Regions from separate parts of the Homo sapiens genome. Here all the other regions are linked to region 1. The links are contacts of gene promoters, found by promoter capture Hi-C in human tissues and cell types (Jung and others, 2019). All regions are on one chromosome and are shown on one strand. The core of a region is centred on a gene start or on the middle of the fragment in contact, and the rest is flanking DNA. Distances in the headings are between cores, read along the strand shown. Region 1 holds the start of NPEPPS (aminopeptidase puromycin sensitive). Region 2 overlaps KPNB1 (karyopherin subunit beta 1). Region 3 overlaps EFCAB13 (EF-hand calcium binding domain 13).

What was found. Contacts are between HindIII fragments. The study calls those that stand out against the background at their distance.
Region 2: a fragment that was not itself captured here is called in contact with the fragment with the promoter of NPEPPS in region 1 in 1 of the 25 tissues and cell types used here (hippocampus).
Region 3: a contact is called between a fragment that was not itself captured here and the fragment with the promoter of NPEPPS in region 1, in 1 of the 25 tissues and cell types used here (mesenchymal stem cells).

The regions. Positions count from the first base shown.
Region 1 is chr17:47,527,931-47,532,399 of GRCh38, reverse strand. It overlaps NPEPPS (aminopeptidase puromycin sensitive), which reads right to left and starts at 1,292. Exons shown (of 23, transcript NM_006310.4): 1 at 845-1,292. The coding sequence starts at 1,099. RefSeq lists silencers at 423-602, 633-782. The HindIII fragment of the contact is 19,464 bases long and covers 1-4,469 here.
Region 2 is chr17:47,658,127-47,662,590 of GRCh38, reverse strand. KPNB1 (karyopherin subunit beta 1) reads right to left here. Exons shown (of 22, transcript NM_002265.6): 5 at 3,931-4,083; 6 at 1,413-1,472. Among named protein-coding and RNA genes, the nearest start is that of KPNB1, 10 kb to the right of the region's middle. RefSeq lists an enhancer at 2,284-2,433. The HindIII fragment of the contact is 3,309 bases long and covers 1,023-4,331 here.
Region 3 is chr17:47,334,463-47,339,329 of GRCh38, reverse strand. EFCAB13 (EF-hand calcium binding domain 13) reads right to left here. Exons shown (of 25, transcript NM_152347.5): 5 at 3,974-4,134. Among named protein-coding and RNA genes, the nearest start is that of EFCAB13, 13 kb to the right of the region's middle. RefSeq lists an enhancer at 1-43. The HindIII fragment of the contact is 8,980 bases long and covers 1-4,867 here.

The sequences.
Region 1 (4,469 bases), core at 43-2,542:
ACAGGCATGAGCCACCGCGCCCAGCCAGCTTCTTGGGAGAGGAAGGTACTGCTAAGCAACCATCACGGTAGCAATAAATCCACCAGCTTCGAAGGCCGCAAAGCTAGGAAGATAGGTGGAAAAGCGGAGATGGGGTCCTCCCGCAGCTTCTCTGGAGGTTAAGAGAGAACAAAGTCACTGCTGCACTGTCACTTGAGGGAAAGGGGGAGGGGGCGGATCATCTTGGAAACCCAGCCCCTGGGCTGGAGCAGGCGGGGAGAAGTCAGCGAGGCTGCCTGGGATTAACATTCTCGTTCTCACCCTCTCCCCCCCCTTCTAGAAGCTCCCCTCGTCGCTCCAACGCGGCGGCCAGAGTCCCAAATGACCACCCCCTCCAATCTATCACCCGAGAGGTGTAGAGAGAAACCAAAGAAAGAACTGAGTCAGGTGGTTGAGGCAGAGCGGGGACTCCCATGACCTCTCCGTCCTCCCCCAACACCCTCCAGCCTCCCCCGGAACACTATCAAGCCCAGAAGGGTCCGGGGCGGGGGGGAAAGCCCCACACAGGTGTGCTCGCCGGGGAGGGGCGCAATGGCCGGGCCGCCGGCTCCCCAGAGCTCCCGCAGCGCGGCCCCAGCCCGAGCCCCAGCCTCAGCTCCGGCCACGGTCCCTGCCCCGGCCCCAGCCCCAGCCCCAGCCCCAGCCCCAACAGAGCAAGGCAGAGCACGCCGAACCCGGCGCCCTGCGGCCGCCCAGCCCCGACCCGAGGCCCGCCCGCCCTCCCGGCCGGGCCCTGAGTCCAGCCCGCGGGCGCGGCCTAACTGCTCGCCCCGCAGCTTGCCCCGGGGCCCGAGGGTCGCTGTACCTGGGCGGCGGCCTCCAGCTTGCCCTCGAAGGTGAAGTCCAGCAAGTCGGGCTTGAGGCAAAGGCTGTAGTTGATGGGGGAGACATCGGCAGGCAGCCGCTCGAAGGGCCTCTTCTCCGGCATCGCGGCGAGGCCCAGGCTGTGGAGGCGGCGGCGAGAGGAGCGGCTGAAGACGAGAAGGAGGAGGGGAGGAGGCGGAGGGCCGAGGAAGAGCAGGCGGCGAGCGAGGGAGGGGGCGGCAGCTGCCAGCCACATCCACCGAGCGCGGGCGACCGCCGGAGGAGAGCGACCGGGGGAGCCTGGGGGGCGGGGGAGAGACCCAGCCGGAGCGCTAGGGGCTGGGAAGGAGGCGGTGCGGGCGGACTGGCGGGCGGGCTGCCTACGGGGAAGGGGGCGGAGGGGAGGGAAGGGGAGGAGGGCCCGCAAGGAGGGAGGGAGAGGGGGAAGTGGTGGCGGCGGCTGCGTGCGCGGCCCCGCCGGCCGGGCGCGCCCCCGTGGAGTGCGCGCGCACGCCTGGGCAGAGGGCGGAGCGGCGAGGACGAGGGCGCGGCCGGCGGGGCGGGAGGGCGTCGGGTTGCTCGCGCGAGCGCAGGGCTGGAGGCGGGCGCTGCACCTGTCGGCGCCGCTCAGGACTGGGGGCGGCCTTCCAACTGGAAGGAGCCGGGAAGGGCTTGATCAGAGGAAGGAAAGGCATAAGGGGCCCTCGGGAAATTGAAGCCTACGCAGTTGGTCAGTTCAGCCAGGGTCGCATGCATAAAATACCAGTTACAAGCAAAACCCCAAACTGGATTCTGCCTCCAGGTCAGCGAAAAGCCCTGACTTGAGGCTCTCTGGCCTTAGTTCCTGTTAAGTAGCAAATTCAAAGGATGATTTGAAAGTTTTGTTATAAAACCTTTAATAGCCGGGCGCAGTGTCTCACGCCTGTAATCCCAGCACTTCGGGAGGCCGAGGCGGGCGGATCACGAGGTCAAGGAGATCGAGACCATCCTGGCTAACATGGTGAAACCCCGTCTCTACTAAAAGTACAAAAAATTAGCCGGGCGTGGTGGCGGGCGCCTGTAGTCCCAGCTACTCAGGAGGCTGAGGCAGGAGAATGGCGTGAACCCGGGAGGCGGAGCTTGCAGTGAGCCGAGATCACACCACTGCACTCCAGCCTGGGCGACAGAGCAAGACTCCGTCTCAAAAAAAAAAAAAAAAAAAAAAACCTTTAATAATCTAGGTTACTTCAACCAATGAGATTTGGACTTTTGAGGGAGTGATTTCAAAAACTGTATTTTTGTTTCCATGATTTAATGTTTAAAATGGGATGTTTCGGGCGGTCGCGGTGGCTCACGCCTGTAATCCCAGCAATTTGGGAGGCCGAGGCGGGCGGATCACAAGGTTAGGAGTTCAAGACCAGCCTGGCCAATATGGTGAAACCCCGTCTCTACTAAAAATACAAAAAAAAAAAAAATAGCCGGGCTTGGTGGCGGGCGCCTGTTGTCCCAGCTATTCGGGAGGCTGAGGTAGGAGAATCGCTTGAACCCTGGAGGTGGAGGTTGCAGTGAGCCGAGATTGCGCCACTGCACTCCAGCCTGGGCGACAGAGTGAGACTCTGTCTCAAAATAAATAAATAAATAAATAAATAAATAAATAAAATGGGATGTTTCACCTTTTCCCCATTTTCATCTTTGTTTCTTTTTAAACTAAAAGATCCTTCAGCAATCATGGCCTCTTTAATGGTGAACTATCTGTGGCTCTCTCAGTTCTGTAGATACCTTGCAAATTGAGGAGGTATATATACAAATGCATATATATATATATATATATATATATATAATGTAACTGAAATTATCTTTAAAAAGGGGGGCCAGGGCCAGGTACGGTGGCTCACACCTGTAATCCCAGCACTTTGGGAGGCTGAGGCAGGTGGATCACGAGGTCAGGAGTTCGAGACCAGCCTGGCCAATATGGTGAAACCCTATCTCTACTAAAAATACAAAAATTAGCCTGGCATAGTGTCATGTGCCTGTAGTCCCAGCTACTAGGGAGGCTGAGACAGGAGAATCGCTTGAACCCGGGAGGCGGAGGTTGCAGCGAGCCAAGATCACGCCACTACACTCCAGCCTGGGCGACAACGAGACTCTGTCTCAAAAAAAAAAAAAAAAAAGTGGGCCCAGGTGTGGTGACGTGTGCCTATGATCCCAGCTACTCGGGAGGCTGAGACGGGAGGATCACTTGAGCCCAGGAGGTGGATGGAGGCTGCAGTGAGCTGTAATGGTGCCACTGCACTCCAGATGACAGAGTGAGGCCCTGTCTCTAAAAAAATAAAAATGAAATAACAATTTTAAAAATGTTATTTAAAGTGTCAAAGGCAAGGAGATTTATCCATAATCTTCATATTTCTTTATAGAAATTTCTCAGATAGAACCCAGTAATTTCCAAAACTGAATGTAGTATGTTGTAATGGACCAGTACTGTCCAGCAGAAACATACTATGAACCACTAGGTAGTATTAAATCTTATAGTAGCCACATCACAAAAAAGTAAAAAGGAAACAAATGAAAACACATCTTATTTAACCCAACATATCCAAAATATTATCATTTCAACATGTAATCAATATAAAAAATATTAATGAGGCCGGGCACGGTGGCTCACGCCTGTAATCCCAGCACTTTGGGAGGCCAAGGCAGGTGAATAACCTGAGGTCAGGAGTTCAAGACCAGCCTGACCAACATGGTGAAATCCCGTCTCTACTAAAAATACAAAAATTAGCCAGGCATGGTGGCGCATGCCTGTAATCCTAGCCAGCTACTCTGGAGGCTGAGGCAGAAGAATCACTTGAACCCAGAAGGCGGAGGTTGCAGTGAGCTGAGATCACAGCACTGCACTTCAGCCTGGGCAAAAAGAGTGAAACTCCGTCTCAAAAAAAAAAAAATTAATGAGATATTTTACTTATTTTGTTCACACCAACTTTGAAATCCAGCATGTATTTTACATTTATAGCACATCTAAATTCTGACTATCCACATTTCACGTGATCAGTAGTCACGTGTGGTTAGTGGCTCTTGTACTGGGCAGCACAGTTTTGGACTCTGGGCCTGGCCTCTTAGCCTCTGAATCCTACATACTTTTCAGAAAGGCAGATTGAAAAGCTGCAATCCTTTCAAACTAAGGTGTGAGATGGGGCCTTTTCTTATATATATGTAGTTCTATGACCACTTACTGGTCAGAGAAATAATAATTTAAATAACATATAATAATTTTTTTTTTGAGCTGGAGTCTCCTCTGTCACCCAGGCTGGAGTGCAGTGGCGTGATCTAAGCTCACTGCAACCTCCACCTCATGGGTTCAAGCAATTCTCCTGCCCCAGCCTCCTCAGTAGCTGGGATTACAGGCGCCCACCACCATGCCCGACTAATTTTTGTATTTTTAGTACAGATGGAGTTTCACCATGTTAGCCAGGCTGGTCTCAAACTCCTTACCTCAGGTGATCTGCCCACCTAGGCCTCCCAAAGGGCTGAGATTACAGACATGAACCACTGTGCCCAGCCCATATAATAATAATTTAATTAACTGTAATTGAATGTTTTTCGAGTGCTTACTAAACACTTTTTTTTTTTTTGAGATGGAGTTTCGATCT
Region 2 (4,464 bases), core at 1,428-3,927, 130 kb before region 1:
TTTTTTTTTTTTTTGAGACAGTCTTCTTGCTCTGTCGCCCTGGTGCAAGTATAGTGGCCATGATCACGGCTCACTGCAGCCTCAACCACCAGGCTCAAGCAATCCTCCCACTTCAGCCTCCCACGTAGCTAGGACTACAGGCTCGCCCCATCACGCACAGCTAATCTTTGTGGACATGGAGTTTCGCCATGTTGCCCAGACTGGTCTCCAACTCCTGGGCTCAAGTGATCCTCTGGCCTCGGTCTCCCAAAGTGCTGGTATTATAGGTGTGAGCCACCACAGCCAGTCCTTTTTTTTTTTGAGATGGAGTCTCCCAGGCTGGAGTGCAGTGGTGTGATCTCAGCTCACTACAACCTCCGCCTCCCGGGTTCAAGCAATTCTCCTGCCTCAGCCTCCTGAGTAGCTGGATTACAGACATGCGCCTGTAAAGTGTTGGGATTACAGGCGTAAGCCACCGCGCCTGGCCTCAGTCTTTTTTTTTGCATTAAAGGTGCGTGTGGAACCCATGGTACGGCTAAATTCACTAATACTATTCAGACTGAAGATATTACTTCTATCTTCTTGAAGGGTCAGGTTTTGGGTATAGCAATAGCAAAGCTGCTTTAATGGCTACAGGGGAAAACAATCACTTGAATAACCTATGGCAATAAAGTAGCAAAGCTGATCAAAAACCTTTTCTCCCTTAACTGTTTGTGTATATATATTTTTTAGTAGAAATGGCTTGAATAACCTACGGCAATGAAGTAGCGAAGCTGATCGAAAACCTTTTCTCCCTTAACTGTTTATTTGTGTATACATATTTTTTAGTAGAGATGGTGTCACTATGTTGCCCAGTTTGGTCTCCAACTCCTGACCTCAGTGATCCTCCTGCTTTGGCCTCCCAAATTGCTGGGATTATAGTGTGAGCCACCACACTGGCACCTTAAACCTTTTTTAAGAGGATGGCAACTTCCATGACAATTCTTCCCTCTTCTCTAATGTTTTTATTAATTATCATTATTATTTTTTGAGATGGAGTCTGTTTGCAGTGGCATGATCTTGGCTCACTGCAACCTCCACCTCCCAGGTTCAAGCGATTCTTGTACCTCAGCCTCCCCAGCAGCTGGGACTACAGGCACGTGCCACCACACCCAGCTAATTTTTTTTTATTTTTAGTAGAGACAGGGTTTCACCATGTTGGCCAGACTGGTATGAAACTCCTAACCTCAGGTGAACTGCCTGCCATGGCCTCCCTAAGTGCTGGGATTACAGGTGTGAGCCACCATGCCCAGCCAGAATATTAATTATTAGTAACAATATTAATCAAACCTTATTGCTGAAGTCAACTGATTCCCAGTATTTCAAACTTATATTAGATTTGACATTTCCTAAGAAAGATGTAAGACAGATTTTTCATATAACCTCACACTTACCCTCGTATCTGGACACTGTGTGGCTTCACAGACCACCTGCATAATAAAGTGCCTTTCAGACTGTAGGAGGAATAAAAATAAAGAGAATTAGGAGAGCATAACCTGTACGTAGGAAGATTTCCAGACTCCCTCTACAAGGAAAACCTCTCACTCCCCCTCAGGGCCCCACACAGCCCTGCCTGGTACAATCAAGCCACTCTCCCTTGAGATGGTACAGCACTATAAAGGCTATAAAGAGTTTACCTTCGGTGTCTGCTATGTGACTTGCCCTCCAATGAGGTCCCTAATCTTTTAATCTCCAAAATGACCACTAACAAAGACTTCAGGGAGGAAACAGAAAAATGTAGGTCACAAGTTTTAAATAAAAATGGTTAAAAGATAAAAATTTACATGTAGGAAAATCAGTTTCCTTATATAAGAGAATTCAAAACATCTGCTTTATTTCAGAGACCAAATTTGTTTTCTGAGAGGTAGCAAATTCACATCAAATGTGGTGAGAAAAGGGAGAATGAACTTTATGTGCTACCCTCCTAAATCTTCCAAAATCTATTAAGGAAAAATCCAGTTTTCTAATCAATTAGAATTGCCATTTGCTCTGGGGTTTCAGACCTTTCCAAAGTCAAGAAATGGTAAAAACCCAGCTGAAGTGTCAACAAACATATATACAGAAATACTTTCAGACCATGACCCTGGCAATTTTACTTGTCGGTATTTACCCTAAAGAACTGAAAGCAGAGTCTCAAAGATACACATGCATGCCCATGTTCATAGCAGCATTACCCACAATAGCCAAAAGGTGGATGCAAACCAAATGGCCATGGATGGAAGACTAGATAAACAAAATGTGGCATATACATATAATGGAATATTAATCACCCTTAAAAAGCCAATTTTGACAAATGCTACCCCTTAGATGAATCTCGAGGACATCATACTAAGTAAAACAAACCAGTCGCAAAAAGACAAATATGATTCCACTTACGTAAGGTATTTCGTTAGAGTAGTAAAATACATAGAAACTGAAAGTAAAATGGTCGTTACCAGTGGCTGAGAAAGGGGGAAATGAGGAGTTGTTGTTCAGTATGTACAGTTTCAGTTTTGCAAGATGAAAAAGTTCTGGAGATTGTTTCCACAGCAATGTGAATCTACTTAACTAACTATACATTTAAAAATGATTTAAGATGGTAAATTTTATGTTATTCATTGCATTTTCAGCCAAAATGTTTACATATATATTATACATACACATACATATACATATATATATATTTTTTTTTTTTGGAGACAGAGTCTTGCACTGTTGCCCAGGCTGAAGTACAGTGGTGAAATCTTGAGCCTTGAACTCCCAGGCTCAAGTGATCCTCCCACCTCAGCTTCCCAAGTAGCTGGGATTACAGGCATGTGCCAAAGCACCTGGCTATATATCCTGTTTCTTAAAAACACCTTCCTAAGGTGGTATGAAACAGACCAATTGCTATAATTTTTATTTATTTCATTTTTCATTATTTTTTTTCCATTATAAGCCCTGTAAACACAAGAGCTCACAAAACTGGTTAACAACTCAGTTGTTCTTCTCCACAGAAATTTTTTTAGAGACAGGGTTTTGTTACGTTGCACAGGCTAGTCTCAAACTCCTGGCTTCAAGTGATCCTCTTGCCTTGGTGGCCCAAAGTGTTGGGATTACTGGATGTGAGCCCCAGCACCCGGCCTCCACAAAATCTTTAGTACAAGGCAAAAGATTCACACAATCTTAAAAGAAACCAAAGTAAACCAACATATATAGTACATACCATAATTTCTTTCTTTTATTTTTTTTATTTTTTATTTTTTTTGAGACAGTCTTGCTCTGTCGCCCAGGCTGGAATACAGTGCTGCAATCTCGGCTCACTGCAACCTCTGCCTCCCAGGTTCAAGTGATTCTCCTGCCTCAGCCTCCTGAGTAGCTGGGATTACAGGCGCACGCCACCACACCCGGCTAATTTTTTTGTATTTTTAGTAGAGATGGGGTTTCACCATGTTCGTCAGGCTGGTCTCAAACTCCTGACCTGATGATCCACCCGCCTCAGCCTCCCAAAGTGCTGGGATTACAGGCTTAAGCCACATCGCCCAGCCTATTCCTTTCTTTTTTTTAAGGGACGATATCTGACTTTGTTGCCCAGGCTGGCCTTGAATAACTGGACTCAAGCAATCCTCCCGCCTTAGCCTCTGAAGTAGCTGGAGTACCAGTATGCACCACCATGCCCTATAATTTAAAAAAACCCAACAACATTCCACACTTTGGACTGCAAAAGGAAAAACCTAAGCTTAGAAACACTTTATTTCCAAAAGCATGATGAGAAACGGCAAACACTCCATGGGGATATCTCACACAATACGAACTCGACTAAACTGGAAACAAATACTTTTAAGTAGGTGGTACTTTCTAAACCATAAACTTAAGAAAACAAAACAAAAAACTTTCATTCAACTCTTTCATCCCTTACTGTCTGAATCTATACCTTATTGTCAAAAAACTTACCTCTTTATCAAAGTTTGCTTTGGTGAACTCCAATGAGTTCAGGAGTGCATTCGTAGCAGCTAGCTTCACATTATTACTAGGCTCTTCTTTCCTCATCCCCTGGATTATGGCAGTCAGAATCTCATTGGATTTATCTTGTAGCTGCTCTGGGTCCTGTAACAAGCAGAGAAGTGCAATGAATATACAGTCAGCCCTCTGCAGCCATGGGTTCCACATCTGTGGATTCAAACAACTATGGATTGAAAATATTTAGAGGAAAAAAAATGGATGGTTGCATCTGTACTGCACCAAAAGGTGCATGTACACCTTTTTTTCTTGTCATCATTCCCTTAATACAGTATACCAACTATTAATATAGCATTTACATTGAATTAGGTATTGTAAGTATTCTAGAGATGATTTAAAGTATATGGGAGGATGTGCATAGGTTATATGCAAATACTACACCATTTTATGTAACAGACTTGAACATCTGAGGATTTTGGTACCTGAGGAGGGTGCTGGAATCAATCCCCTCCAAAAGACTGCCATAAG
Region 3 (4,867 bases), core at 2,020-4,519, 200 kb after region 1:
CATTAAACTGGTCCCTAGTGCCAAAAAGTCTGGAGACCACTGCCATAAACTACACAACAATAAGATAAAATGTAATTATGAATTACATTTGAATTAAATTTTAGAAGAGAAGACACATACTCTTAGAAAGTGCTTCAAGTAATCTAGGGTAGACTTAAATTTCAAGAACAACCCATCAGGACAGTGACTAACTAGATTATATCTACAACAGCTTCAGGTGAACTCAGCCCTAAGCAAAACTGTGACATAAAAAAATATATTATAATTCATGCCACTCCCTTTCTTTAGCAAGTACCTTGGCCTTTTTTTCCAATTTTATTTATTTATTTTATTTTAAATTGATAGACAAAATTATATATATTTATTGTTTCTTAAATTTATTTTTAATTGACAAATAAAATTGTATGTATTTATGGTGTACCCTGCTCTTTTTTACTGACTTATTTCTCCAAGAAAAAGTATCTTGCTTTTTTGACACACTATCCCTTTAAATCCAATCTCCCAAATTCATACCCTGTGAACCCCCATACTTTGCTCTTCACTTCCCTGAAGCTGCCATATGATTAGATCCCTCTGCAGTCCTCTAGTCTCAAAGCAAGGACTTTCAACTATTTTGCCTATGACCCACAGTCAAAAGTAAATTTTCTATTGAGGTACAATATACATATACAGAGATAAGAGGTGCAATAGAAAGCAAGGGAGAGAGAGGAGGAGGAAAAAGCACTCTAATGTTTTCAATTCTATTCTAACTTATTTATTTAAAAAAAAAAACTAGTAGTAAACCAGCTGCAGTGGCTCTCACCTGTAATCCCAGCACTTTGGGAGGCCAAAGTGGCAGGACTGCTTCAGGCCAGGAGTTCAAGACCAGCCTGGGCAATATAGTGAGACCTCACCTCTCCAAAAAATTTAAAAATTAGCCAGGCGTGGTGGTGCACACCTGCAATCCTAGCTACTCAGGAGTCTGAGGTAGGAGAATCCCTTAAGCCCAGGAGTTCCAGGCTGCGATGAGCTACGATCATGCCACTGCACTCCAGCCAGGGTGGTAGAGTAAACTCCTGACTCAAGAAAGAAAAAAAAAAAAAAAAACTAGTAGTGACCTCCTAACCTGATTTCATGACCCATTACCCATTAATGAGTCACAACCTGCAGTTTACTGGTGCTTTATATCCCCCATATATCCTTATTGAAGTTGAGCCTTCTTATTTCTAATATAATCATGACTTCCACTCCATTACATGACTTTTGATCTTTCATCTTTTTTCAAAAAATGATAAAGAAAATAAATTTTTAATCTGATGAATGCAAGACCTCTTTAAATTATCAGGCCCAAAGAGGCATTAAAATGAGATAGGAGTCACTGTCTCACATCCCCTTGAGCTAAGCAATTATTTCAAAGTTGCCTGCTATGTGGACTCTAGACTGTCACCAAGTAGCCACAAATTAACCTAACAATGCCATACACTGGATACTATAACTCATACGCTACAGTTCAGCAATATATAGCCAATCACTAATCAATGTTATTTCTGTAAGCCAGTAAGAATTCCTGAAAAACAACTTTTGTAATCAACCCATCTCCTGATTGGTTCCTTTTTTCTTTAAAATATTGAACCTCTCCTTTGTTCTTCAGAGTACCTCCCAGTGTTTCCCAGGCTGCAGTCCTCAACCTGGGCCTAAACAAACTCTCTACTTATATTAATTTTGCCTCAGTTTCCTTATTTAGGTAAACAAAAGTGTATTTTTTAATTATGAGCTACTTCACACATTTCATAGAATAAGGATGATTTGGTATAAATAATGAATAAGTAAAAACATTTGTCCTGTACCCCATTTTTAAATTTTTTTTATTTTTATATATTTAGAGGGTACAAGTGCAGATTTCTTACATGCACATAGGCATTGTGGTGAGTTTAGGCTTTCAGTGTACCCATCACCAAATTCAACCCTCACCCCTCCTCCTACATTTGTAGTCCCAATGTCTATTATTCTACTCTGTATGTCCATGTGTATGAATTGTTTAGCTCCCACTTACAAGGGAAAACATGCACTGTACCCCATTCTTTTGAGGCATGTGCTTCCCACAGTGCTAACCTATCTTGAAGAAAGCTAATGGAAGAAGGTAAAGGGATGCTCCCACGACCTTCCTTTTCTTCCTAACCTCCCACGACCTTCCTTTTCTTCCTAGGTAACAAGTTTTATTGTAGTCTTCTAGAAATAATTGCTTCATCTTTTGCCATCTAACAAACAGGAGTAGTGGTGAAAATGTTAGATTAAATAAAAGTGAAATACAGATTTCTGGAAGGTAGAGGAGATTTTTATTTAGGTGCCTCTCCAATCACAATGTGTAGGTAATTTCCAGTTTCACCAACAGGTAAGATGAGCATTTAGTTAAAGATAAAGTGACATAAGCTCTGAATGTTTTCCCAGAGGCTTTTAGATTTTTTTTTATTTTTTAGTCATTTTATAAATAATAAATACAGATTGAGTATTTCTCCTACATGCATTTAAAATGCTAGAACTTCTACGACTAACAAAAGGCAACCAGGCAATGCAGTATACAAGAAAGAACTGCTAAAAGATTCAAATAGCTTGGTCGGGTGCAGTGGCTCACGCTTGTAATCCCAGCACTTTGGGAGGCTCAGGCGGGCAGATCATGAGGTCAGGAGTTCAAGACCAGCCTAGCCAATATGGTGAAATCCCGTCTCTACTAAAAATACAAAAAAAAAAAAAAAAAAAATTGGCCAGGTGCGGTGGCTCACGCCTATAATCCCAGCACTTTGGGAGGCAGAAGCAGGCGGATCATGAGGTCAGGAGATCGAGACCATCATGGCTAACATGGTGAAACCCCATCTCTACTAAAAATACAAAAAATTAGCCATGCATGGTGGTGGTCGCCTATAATCCCAGCTACTTGGGAGGCTGAGGCAGGAGAATGGCTTGAACCCAGGAGGCGCAGCTTGCAGTGAGCCAAGATCGTGCCACTACACTCCAGCCTGGGCAACACAGCGAGACTCCATTTCAAAAAAAAAAAAAAAAATAGCCGAGTGTGACGGCGCACGCCTGTAGTCCCAGCTACTCAGGAGGCTGAGGCAGAAGAATCACTTGAACCCAGGAGGTGGAGGTTGCAGTGAGCCATGGCTGCGCCACTGCACTCCAGCCTGGGTGACAGAGTGAGGCTCCATCTCAAAAAAAAAAAAAAACTATTCAAATATCTTAATTTCATGGAAGACACAAAGCCAAGCCTAGAGGAAAGAACCTTCTGTTTCCTTCTTAAATTCTCTTTAAGACAAACTTAACAGACATATGGATAACTGTTCTCCTCTAACTAGAATCCTATGATTCCAGTTAGCTTATAGCTTACTTATAGGCTTCCACATGTGATATAGTTTGACTCTGTGTCCCTACCTAAATCTCATGTTGAATTGTAATCCCCAATATTGGGGGAGAGACCTGGTAGGAAGTGATTGGATCATGGGGGCAGATTTCCCACTTGTTGTTCTCATGATACTGAGTGAGTTCTCATGAGATCTGTTTGTTTAAAAGTATGTGGCACTTCCCTCTTCACTCTCCCTCCTGCTGGCCTTGTGAAGATATGCTTGCTCCCCCTTCCCCTTCCACCATGATTCTAAGTTTCCTGAGGCTTCCCCAGCCTCGCTTCCTGTAAAGTCTGCAGAACCATGAGCAATTAAACCTCTTTTATTTATAAATTACGTAGTCTCAAGTAGTTCTTTATAACAATGTGAGAACCAACTTAGACAACATGGAAGCCTATAGATGGCTGTGAGAGAAGTCAGAAAAAATGTAAGAACAGCTATTTAGGAGTTAAAATTATGCTACTGAAAGAATGACCACAAATATGCATGATCCTATACACATGGTACATTATGAGAACGCATAAGCCACAGCTACATTTTGGCATTCTTAACTTGCAAAAGTATAATTCAATAAAGTAAGTTCAGAGTTTTTAACTTACATTTTTTTATATTCTGGGCTCAAACTCCTAATTTCCGGTGAAATTTCCTTCTCTATTGTTTTAGAAAACTTGATGTATTTCTTGTGGTTAATAGTTCCTGATGACAAGTCAGTTGCAAAAGAATTAGAGCCATCATCTAATAAGTCAATATTTTCCTCTGCCTGGGGAATATAAGAGCCACAATCAAGCATGTCCTCTTTGCACATACATATTAAATATGACATTCTGGGTCAATCATTCATTTTAGATTGATATTCTTTCTCAAATAGTGCTACCGAAGAGAATTTTGTTGAAAAAGGTTTTACTCACTAATGTATTATTTTTCCAGATTCAGTACATACTCTAAATAACTCCAATTATCCTTAGTGCATTATACAGCTATAAAAGAACATCATTTATGAATATGTCTAACAGTTATTGCATCTAGCACTTTTTCTTTTTTTGAGACAGGGTCTCTTTTTGTTGCCTAGGGTGGAGTCCGTGGTGCAATCATGGCTCACTGCAGCCTTGACCTCCCAGGCTCAAGCAATTCTCCCACCTCAGCCTCCTGAGAAGCTGAGACCACAGACATGCACCATCATGCGTGGCTAATTTTTTATTATTCGTAGAGACGAGGTCTCCCTACATTGCCAAGGCTGGTCTCGAACTTCTGAGCTCAAGCAGTCCTCCCACCTCAGCCTCCCAAAGTGCTAGAATTACAGGCATGAGCTACCTCTCCCAGCCTGGATCTAGCTCTTAAGGCATCAAGGTACAAAAGTTTATCATACTCTTTGCCAAGAAAGATACAAAAGTTTATCATACTCTTTGCAAAGCAGTATTTTTATTATAAACATTAACTCGATTTTAGATACAAACTAAAGCCATGATCCATGAAAGAAATAATCGATAAGTTAA